Regions from separate parts of the Homo sapiens genome. Here region 2 is linked to region 1. The links are contacts of gene promoters, found by promoter capture Hi-C in blood cells and fetal thymus (Javierre and others, 2016). All regions are on one chromosome and are shown on one strand. The core of a region is centred on a gene start or on the middle of the fragment in contact, and the rest is flanking DNA. Distances in the headings are between cores, read along the strand shown.

Region 1 (4,922 bases), core at 389-2,888:
CCCACCACTGCTGTTTCGAAGTAGGTTCAATGACTGAGATTCCATTGCTCCATAGACCAAAAACTAAAACGAGCGCTGCCACACAGCTAAGCGATGTGTGCATAGAGATTCTCTGTATTTCCATCAGTTGGGAAACTTCCTTAGTGCTGGGCTCCTATCAAAATATGCTGGGCTAAATCTGCTTTCACAAAATAGCCAGGAAAGGTGTTTTGATCACTTCCTGAGCAAGGATTAGTACAGGATAATTCACTTTTCATGGCCGGAGTGTGGTTCTCAATTTCAAAGACACTGAAGCTAATTTAATTTCCCATATTGAAAGAAAATTGCCTTGGATAAAAAGTTTTGTTTTTGTTTTTATTTAAATCAGGTTATCTTTAAATAGACTCATGACAGTCCCCAAGCACCTCTTTCCAAATCTGATTTGTGAACAACACAAAAGTAATGCTGTGTTTATAAAAATTGTTTTGGAGCTGAATTTACAGAGAAAATCTTGTTGAAGGTGCAGACACGGAAAGACAGTGTTTGGAGGTACCTCCCACTGCCATGCCAGGTGTCCAGAGGTGTCAAGCTGCCAGTGTTGATTCAAATGAAAATGATAATGTTGAAGAAGGAGGCTGCAAAAGTTCCTAAGCAACCTGACGGGATATACCTTGTAAAATGCTTTCAAAAAAGCTTCAAAGGGCAGCTAATAAATGAATATACTGACAGGGTTTAATCGCTTCTCCTCTCTCCTAGTAACAGGAATTAAAGGCCACAGGTGGTTCTGGGTTGGAGGCAGGACCCAAAAGTAAATGCAGCATTCAGAGCTGCACAGGCCCAGTCAGAGCAGCTGCCACTTCAGGCACTTACAGTGGTCACCCAGGATTCAGGAGATGCATATTATAAGTAACTCAGTTCTGTAAGAGCTAGGAGTTAGTTCACACTGCTTGGGCTCTCACTAAGTAAGCCTGTGCAATGCAGGCAGGAAGGGAGAAAATGCTTACAAAAAAGAAATGAGTAGATTCTTGCCTTAGGAAAGTCAACGGGATACAATTCCTGATGGAAGAGCAGTTGCTATTCTAAGAGCTAATTAACAAGAAACAATGCTGCAAAAAACTTGGGAGACAGGACGGCAGAACACACCCAGATGGCCTGTGGGAAATTCCCAGGCCTGCCAATGATGTGAGAGAGGACATCTTGTGAATGGGTGGGTACAGCCTGTTCTTCTGGGCAAGACAAACAGTGCAGGACTCTATATGCCAGGGTGGCTGAAGCCCCAGTGTCCAAGAGGCTTGCCCATTCCTCCCTGCCCCTGGCACTGAACCCAAGCTTCCATGGGGCACTGTGGAAGAGGCCTTGCCTGACGACAAGTAGACCAAACACGACCGTCCGTCCTCTAAAAACTGCACCCTTGGAATTGGGGACAGGCAGAATAACCCTTTCACTAGCTTGATACTTAGCCTCTTGGGGTTCTGATAAATCCTTTTGAATAACCAAGCAGTTTTGTTTTTAATACCTTGGCCTGAGCCCTTTAGATGCAGCCATCCTCAACTTACAAAAAAAACAAACCAAAAGAAAAAACAAAACACACACACACACAAACAAACTTTGATTCAATTGACAAAGGTTTTCAAGGTGTCTACTACATGTAAGGCAGCACACTAGGGGTTTCTTGGGGATACGCAGATGACAAAGACAGTGTCTCTTCATCCAGGAGCTAATCAAGAGAAGGGGGAAGAATCAAGCAAACTTCATAATACACAGCCGGATGAAATGAAAAGAGACTTAGATCAAGTGCTGTGAGAGCTTGGAAGAGGCACGGGGCAAATAACACTGGGGCTGGTGGTGGGAAGGCAAGTGACAGCCTCGTGGAAGAGGTGGCATTTGACCAGAGATGAGGACGAACAGAATTAACATAGTAGGCATGAAGGAAGAAAATGCGCCTGAGGACACAGCCAGCACAAATGCAGAGGCATACAAGTGCCTGGTACAGCTGGCATGCAGGGATGGCTGAGGAACTGCGGGGGCAGCCGGTGGGATCCATCCGAGGTGAGTGATGAGAGCTGCACGGCAATTTAGGGGATGACACTAGCCACAGCGTGATGAATAAATCTTAAATGCAGAGGTAGCGCCTGGTGGTGAGCAGTTAGAGGCTGAGACAATAGCTGAGAACACATGACAAGTTCAGCAACTAGGAGAGTTTCTAGTTAATTGGAAGGAAGAGTTGGAAGCACATTCTAGAGGGCCGTGGAAGAATAAACACAATCCACTAACTGCCGGGAATGGGAGTGAAGAGTCCAAGATCACAGGGTCCTCCCTGGCTGCCTGATGGGGCAGTGGTGTTGAGTAACAGAAATGGAACAAAAGAGGGGCAAGAGATTATTCTTTGTAGCATGAGTATTAGTAGCAGTGTTAGTAGTAGTAGTATTTTTGTTAGTGGAACAAAGACAAAAATAGCTCACACTTACTGAGATCCTACAGTCTGCCAAATCTGGGAGGCTGATGGGCTCCGCTTTGCATTGGAGGTGTGTGGGCACCCACATGCAGATGAATTCTAGGGTAAATCTGGGGTGCAGGCCAGGGCTGGCCATCTAACGCTCAGAGACATTGAAATTTGAGTAACCACTGAAGCTGGGAGGGCAGGTTAGATTGTGGAAAGTGACAGAGACAGACTAGAACTGATACCAGCCCTAGGTCTCAGACACATTTTATTTGGCCTACCTAGTGTGTTTTGAAATAATTTTAATTACTTCTCAAATATTTAAACGCTAGGAAATGTCACATCACATGAAAAGTCAGGTTTTCCAACTTCTCGTGGAAAATGAGATACTCGGGAACACTGGGCCTGCACTCCTCTCATAGAAACGGCCTGGAGTTGAGCAGGGGCTTCTGCTTTTCATGGGGCACCAGATGCCCAGTCAGTCACATGCCCCACCACTCCCTATCACCTCCCACCTGGCTGGTATCACTCACGGACTTTCATGGCTCCTGACCCCTGGTGTAGGGTGAGAAGCAGCCAGAGTGGCAGCTGGAGGATGCCATGAAGAGGCCAGAGGAGGATGAATACCATGAAACAGAAACCAGGACCGGGAGAAGGAGGGTCCGGGGTGATACTAAGGGGGTAGAAGCTTTGTGTGTTGTGGTGGTGGTGGGGTGGCCCTTCTACCACTACCCCCGTCCAGTGATGTGGAGATGAGGAGTTAAGGGAACATTTAACATTAGTCCCAGGCCTGAAATCTTTCACAGTTCACGTTGGTGCAGATGGTGTGGAGTTGGAGGTGGATAGCTTGCCATCCTAGGCTGGGCACAGGCCTTTCCCTAAACTCTCTGTTCCTACTGCTGTGAATGGTGACAGCATAATCCTTTTGCAGAAAACTTTCATTATTTGCTTATGTCCCTAATGGGACCCAAATGCCAGTAAGTTAACAATTGTGCTCCTCGGGGCCATCACTTTCATCCACATTTAAGGTCACACTGAAAAGTTGCCTCACCTCAGCTGACTTTCTCCCTGACTGTGATCCAAGAGGGAAAGTCGGCCAAAGAGGAAAATAATGTGACTTCATGAAATATTCTGCACACATTTACTAAAGGAAGCAGAATGTTTTCTAGGGCCAAGAAAAGCACTTTATAAGCTGCACAGAGTGAGTGAGGGGACCAGGGTGGAAAATCTGGATTCTACCCCAAGTGTAAGTCTCAAACTGACTGGAGAGCAGGGGAAAGAGAAGGGTCAAGAACTCAGGGACTCATTTTATGTTCCCCTTCCTGCTGTGGCCCTCATTACAGTGGAACTGAACTAGAGGATACTCAAGGAATCAGAGGCACACCTGGCCCCGAGAATGAGACACTTAACAGTTTTTTTCCCAGACTACAGAGGAGGTGTGGCTGCAGGGGAAAGCAAGCAGGCATGCTCCCTCCTGACGCTAGTTCTAAGGGGACATGTAAAGGATTTGGGCCAAGTTTGTATAGGAATGTCCTGGGAGGCCTCCTGCAAGCCAGGGAAGGCTGAAAGAACTAACAGCTTCTCTGACATGGAGGGCTGGTCAGGCTCTGCAGTGTCACTGCTTGTGTTTGTATCATTCTTTCACCACTGAGTTACTGTGTGACTGTGGACAAATTTCTTAACTTCTCTGAGCCTTAGATTTCTCAACTCTAACATGAAGATTTTCCTATATTTTAAAAAGTTATGATGAGTCAATGAGAGAATTAACGTAAAGCGCCTGGCATAAAGAAAGCCCTCAAGAAATGATAGTATTAGTGAACATCTTGTTGCCGTCCTAGGCTCGAATAGACTGTCCCTAAACACTCTGTTCCCACCGCTGTGAACAGTGGCAGCATAATTCTTTTGCAGAATACTTCCATTATTTGCTTATGTCCCTAATGGGACCCAAATGCCAAACTTGTAAGTCCATCCTGTTCTACTAAAAGGCAGGGGCACAGATAGAAAGCTGCTGAGAGACTACACTCTGAGGTCAGCCTTGACCCTGAGGCTCATCTGGCTCTCCCTGTTCCTCTACAGCCAGGTAAGAGAGAACAAGATCTCTTTCTGCCTTCACTGTCCTAGGCTCCAGTAGTGCAGTGGGAGGAATGGTCTTTGGAAAATAATGTTCCTTTTTCTTGCTTTTTTTTAATTTCTGAGATAAGATCTTCCTATGTTGTTCAGGCTGGTCTCAAACTCTTAAGCTCAAGTGATCCTCCTGCCTCAGCCTCCTGAGTAGCTGGGATTATAGGCACATACCACCAAACCCTATTTGGAAAACTTTTTTTTTTTTTTTCCTGACAGAAAACCTTTTCTAAGACAATCTTAAAACGAGAATACAAACAATAGTTTTTTGTTTGTTTTGTTTTTTTTTGATATGGAGTCTCGCTCTTGCTGTCTAGGCTGGAGTGCAATGGTGCACAATTTTGGCTCACTGCAACCTCCCCCTCCCAGGTTCAAGCAATTC
Region 2 (5,389 bases), core at 52-2,551, 2.0 Mb before region 1:
TTATAATGGAGTGGCACAATACATTAGAGTTCTCATATTGTTTCCGTGATACTTAAATTATTTTCACTAAATTTTCATGTTTTCCTGTTAACATATGACTTTTCTTTTCTTTGTTTGTTTCTTTTTTTTTTTTTTGAGAAGGAGTTTTCCTCTTGCTGCCCAGGCTGGAGTGCAATGGCATGATCTTGGCTCACCACAACTCCGCCTCCCGGGTTCAAGTGATTCTCCTGCCTCAGCCTCCCGAGTAGCTGGGATTACAGGCATGCGCCACCATGCCTGGCTAATTTTTGTATTTTTTTTTTTTTATTAGAGATGGGGTTTCTCCATGTTGGTCAGGCTGGTCTCGAACTCCCAACCTGAAGTTATCTGCCCGCCTTGGGATTACGGGTGTGTGCCACTGTGCCTGGCTTTTTTTTTTTTTTTTTTTGAGATGGACTCTTGCTCTGTTGCCCAGGCTGGAGTGCAGTGGTGCCATCTTGGCTCACCGCAACCTCCGCCTCCCAGGTTCAAGCGGTTCTCCCTTCTCAGCCTCTTGAGTAGCTGAGATTACAGGTGCATGCCACTGCGCCTGGCTAATTTTTGTATTTTTAGTAGACACAGGGTTTCACCATGTTGGCCAGGCTAGTCTCGAACTCCTGACCTCAAGTGATCCACCCACCTCGGCCTCCCAAAGTGCTGGGATTACAGGTGTGAGCCACCGGGCCCAGCCCTTTTTTTTTTTTTTTTTAAAGGACGGAATCTCACTCTGTCACTCAGGCTGGATGGAGTGCAATGGCGGGATCCTGGCCCACTGCAACCTCCACCTCCCAGGTTCAAGCGATTCTTTCACCTCAGCCTCCCGGGTAGCTGAGATTACAAGCACCTGCCATCATGCCCGGCTAATTTTTGTAATTTTGTAGAGACTGAATTTCACCATGTTGTCCAGGTTGGTCTTGAACTCCTGACCTCAAGTGATCCACCCATCTCAGCCTCCCAAAGTGCTGGGATTACAGGCGTGAGCCATTGCACCTGGCCAAGATAAGACTTTTCTTAACTGATTTTATTTTCTTTAGCACATATTCCCATTTTCATGAATATTGTATATGGGAATTTTAGAATTTGTATAACTCACATGTATGCTTCCACCTTGGGAATGTATGGGTTTATGATACTTCTTTCTCTTCAGTAGGGATATGTCCTCAGCACCAACTACTCCTCCATCAGTGGATAAAGTAGACGGATTTTCTCGGAAGTCCGTCAGAAAAGCCAGACAGAAGAGGTCGCAAAGTTCCTCACAGTTTAGGTCTCAAGGCAAGCCTATTGAGTTAACACCTCTGCCGCTGCTAAAAGGTAAGGCTCATGACCAGGTGATGCATTCTTTTTCAATTGATCTTTCTACATCTATATATAATTTCCTTTTTGTAGAGTTTTATATGTGTTGCAAATTGAAGGGATGGGATACTTCACATACATTGAAGTTACTAATGTGTGACCAAATATACCCACTCTCCTTTTTAAAGGCTCAATTTAGTCTGTCTTTGGGCAAGTTAAAAGAAACATTATCAGGAGAATATCTCACATTGATGAGTAGGTAAACTAAGTACTAGAGAAACTTTAAGATGTCTGGGTTTGTGTTTTTCATTTTTTCTTCTGTTGACGTTTAGGGATACATTATATACAATGACAACTACAGATTATGGTCTTAGGAAGTAGACCCTAGTAGAGGAGATGGTACCATTCATTAATTTACATATAGAAAATGGTATTTGGAAGAATTCGTTTTTAAAAATCAAGAAAAAAATGGTCCATTTATAGTTGTTTACATGCACTCTTGTTTTCACATAGTACAAGTAGAAAAGATATACCTTTCTATGTACAAGTATGATGATCATACTTGTTTAGTATGATCTTTTCTTTGAAATTTGTTAATTTTTTAATTTTAATTTTTATCTTTTGAGATAGAGTCTCCCTCTGTTGCTCAGGCTGGTTCACAGCAACCTCCACCTCCTGGGTTCAAGTGATTTTCCTGCCTCAGCTTCCCGAGTAGCTGGGAGCACAGGTGCCCGCCACCATGCCCAGCTAATTTTTGTATTTTTAATAGAGACAGGGTTTCACCATGTTGGTCAGGCTGGTCTTGAACTCCTGACCCCAAGTGATCTGCCCACCTTGACCTCCCAAAGTGCTGGGATTACAGGTGTGAGCCACCGTGCCTGGCCTGAAATTTGTTAAAAACAAGTTTTTTGGTTTTTTAAATTTTCTTTTGAGACAATCTCATGCTGTCACTCTGGCTAGAGTTCAGTGGGGACAGAGTGAAAGTGCAGGTTGAGGCCGGGCGTGGTGGCTCACGCCTGTAATCCCAGCACTTTGGGAGCCCGAGGCAGGCAGATCACGAGGTCAGGAGTTTGAGACCAGCCTGGCCAACATGGTGAAACCCTGTCTCTTCTAAAAATACAAAAATTAGGCGCGGTGGTGGCACCTGTAATCCCAGCTACTCGGGAAGCCGAGGCAGGAGAATTGCTTGAACCGGGAGGCAGAGGTTGAAGTGAGCCCAGATCGTGCCATTGCATTCTAGCCTGGGTGACAGAGCAAGACTCTGTCTCGGGGGAAAAAAAAAAAAGAAAGTGCAGGTTGGGGCTCACTGTGGCCTCTATTTCCTAGGCTCAAGTGATCCTCCCTTTCCCGAGTAGCCGGGATCAACTTCCCGAGTAGCTGGGACTACAGAAGCATGCCATCACGCCCAGCTAATTTTTCCATTTTTTTGTAGAGATGGAGTTTTGCCATGTTGCACAGGCTGGTCTCGAATTGCCATGGTGTTCCCATGCCAGGATTTAGGCGTGAGCCACCATGCCCGGCCCAACACGTTTTTAATATGAAGAATTTTTTCTAAATTAGGCATTTCAACTTTTGTTTGGGTATGTGGTTACTTTTTGTCCCTTTTAATTTTCATCATGTTTGCTTCATGTTTATGAACAGGTGTTGTTTGAAAAATATCAGAACATAGCTTTTATAGTGTGGAAACTATCAGAATTTACCTTTGAGGTGGATGTTTATGTGCTGAATACTGAAGAATGGGAGAAAGGGGATATGAACAACACAATGAGCTTTAGTGTGGCTTGGAGGAAACCAGGCAACCTGGTTTGCTAGTTCATTATTGCAGACTTATTTCTGTAACAGTTTGTGAAATCAGAAGGTATTATAAGAAAAACTGGAATGTAACCGGAAAAGATCCTCAAAATTTAGCTTAGGATATTTCAAGCTTCTATTTTTTCCATATGAATACTTTTTTTAAAAAAGAGAGAGAGATTCATAAATAAGATTCCAATGTTTATACAAAATTTTTGGAAACTGAATACTGATTACTGTAAAGATGATATATCTACCAGTCAGTAAAGATGAGCTCCTGTGAGCTTTGGGGGAGAAAATTTTGACTAGAGATTTTGCTGGTAAAAATGAAAATAGTCATTATGAGGCTTTGGAAAGAAAATGTAGGAAACACTGTAGATTGAACTATGCTTGAAATACAAAGTTGGGAGACACTGGTTTTTAGTAATCTATTTAATCTGAAGTAGATATGTAATGGGTGTTAACTTCTGTATCTGTAAAGGACTTCATTCTGAGGAAGCCAGTTAAATTTTTTTTTTTAGAATTAGAAGGAATTTAAAAACTTACACTAATTTCTTGGATCTTATGGTAAACAATTAAATTAGGACTTCACTGACCACTCATAGTCAGGGTATTGGTTTTGTGGGTAGTGAAAGAAGCATGCATGAGAAGAATTTGGACACATGCTTTAATGTATTTTTTCTTTAATGCTTTCATGTCTTTTTTCTCATTTTAAAAAATTATGGTAAAATATACATAACATGAAATTTACCATCTTAACCATGTTTAAATGTGCATTAAGTGCCTTGACATTGTCATGCAACTGTCCCTACCATCCATCTCCAGAACCTTTTCATCTTCCCCAACTGAAGCTCTGTACCTGTTAAACACTGACTCCCTGTTTCCCCCACCAGCCCTTGGCAACCGCCATTCTGTTTTTTGTTTCTATGAATTTGACTACTCTAGGTACCTCCTATAAGTGATGCCATGCAATATTTGTCTTTTTGTGACTGGCTTATTTCACTTAGTCAAGTGTCTTCAGTGTTCATCTCTGTTGTAGCAGGTGTCAGAATTTCATTCTTTTTTAAGGCTGAATAATTTCAGTGTATATACATACCATATACTTTTTAATCCATTAATTCATTGGTGGACACTTGGGTTGCTTCCACCTTCAGGCTATTGTGAATAATGCTGCTGTGACCATGATGTACAGATACCTGTTTAAGTTCTGGCTTTCATTTCTTTTGGGTATGTACCCAGACGTGTAATTGCTGGATCATATGTTGAATTTTTCAGGAATTGCCATACATATTGCCACAGCAACTGGACCATTTTTCATTCCCATTAGCAATGCATGAGGGTTCCAGTTTTCTATATCCTCACCATCACTCATTTTCTGCTTTTTAATTTTTTGATAGTAGTCATTATAATAGGTATGAAGTGGTATTTCAGTGTGATTTTTATTTGCATTGCCCTAATGATTAGTGATGTTGAGCATCTTTTCCTGTGCTTTTTGGCCATTTCTGTATCCTTTTTCTCACTTTTAAAAGTGAAGTCTGCTAGTGTTGCCAGTTTTCCAAGAACTCTGCTTTCCAAGAATGTGATTTTTTGAACTTGTATATTTTGCCAGTATGAGAGAATTGGAGAGTAACAGGACTATATACTCACAAACCTAATTCCAGAGTGACTAACAGTGATTGTTATGTAGTAAGCACATTCTGGGTAAATACTCTGGAAAGTATTCTATAAATTAGAAATCCATCTCTGTCTGTAGAATAACATAAGGAAGTATAATCAGAAATAGACTTCAGTAATGTGTATTTGCTCTTGATTTTCTAGGAAGTAATTTATGGAATATAAAGAAAATGTAGGAGGAATTTCTTTTCTAGGATTTTATTTTTTTTGGCCATTGCCTTAAGAGAAACCAGGATAAACACTATATGCATGCTAAGGGTAGTTATTGATTTAATTTTCTATAGTATTGCTTTGACTAAATTGGGTTAATTTTATTTGGAGTACAATATAAAATATGGTTGAATTTTGTGAGTTGTTTTAAATAATGAAGTCAAAGAGGTGTCCTTAAGGTCTTTAATTTCAGGGGAGTTTGAATACGATAATTATACAAACAGTGATTATGTAACTCATCTTTTAATATGTCATTTTTGAATGCTCAGATATGCATTAATAACCACTCGTTTTGTGCATGCATTATCAGAATGTTTATTATATGCATCATAATCTTTGATTTATAAATAATACTGCATTAATTCTTAGCGTTTTAAAGTCTGTTCACTTGCAAAACTGCAAC

Evidence for each region. The method cuts DNA at HindIII sites, captures the fragments that hold promoters and counts their contacts. A CHiCAGO score of 5 or more calls a contact.
Region 2: a fragment that was not itself captured here is called in contact with the fragment with the promoter of PRKCH-AS2 in region 1 in 1 of 17 cell types (neutrophils); the score reaches 5.2 in neutrophils.

What each region holds. Positions count from the first base shown.
Region 1 is chr14:61,542,200-61,547,121 of GRCh38, reverse strand. PRKCH-AS2 (PRKCH antisense RNA 2) reads left to right here and starts at 1,638. Exons shown (of 3, transcript NR_188139.1): 1 at 1,638-2,028; 2 at 4,405-4,499. The region is part of intron 12 of PRKCH (protein kinase C eta); the gene reads right to left. The HindIII fragment of the contact is 1,799 bases long and covers 1,311-3,109 here.
Region 2 is chr14:63,535,469-63,540,857 of GRCh38, reverse strand. It overlaps PPP2R5E (protein phosphatase 2 regulatory subunit B'epsilon), which reads left to right. Exons shown (of 14, transcript NM_006246.5): 2 at 1,166-1,329. The coding sequence starts at 1,173. Among named protein-coding and RNA genes, the nearest start is that of PPP2R5E, 5.2 kb to the left of the region's middle. The HindIII fragment of the contact is 3,873 bases long and covers 1-3,237 here.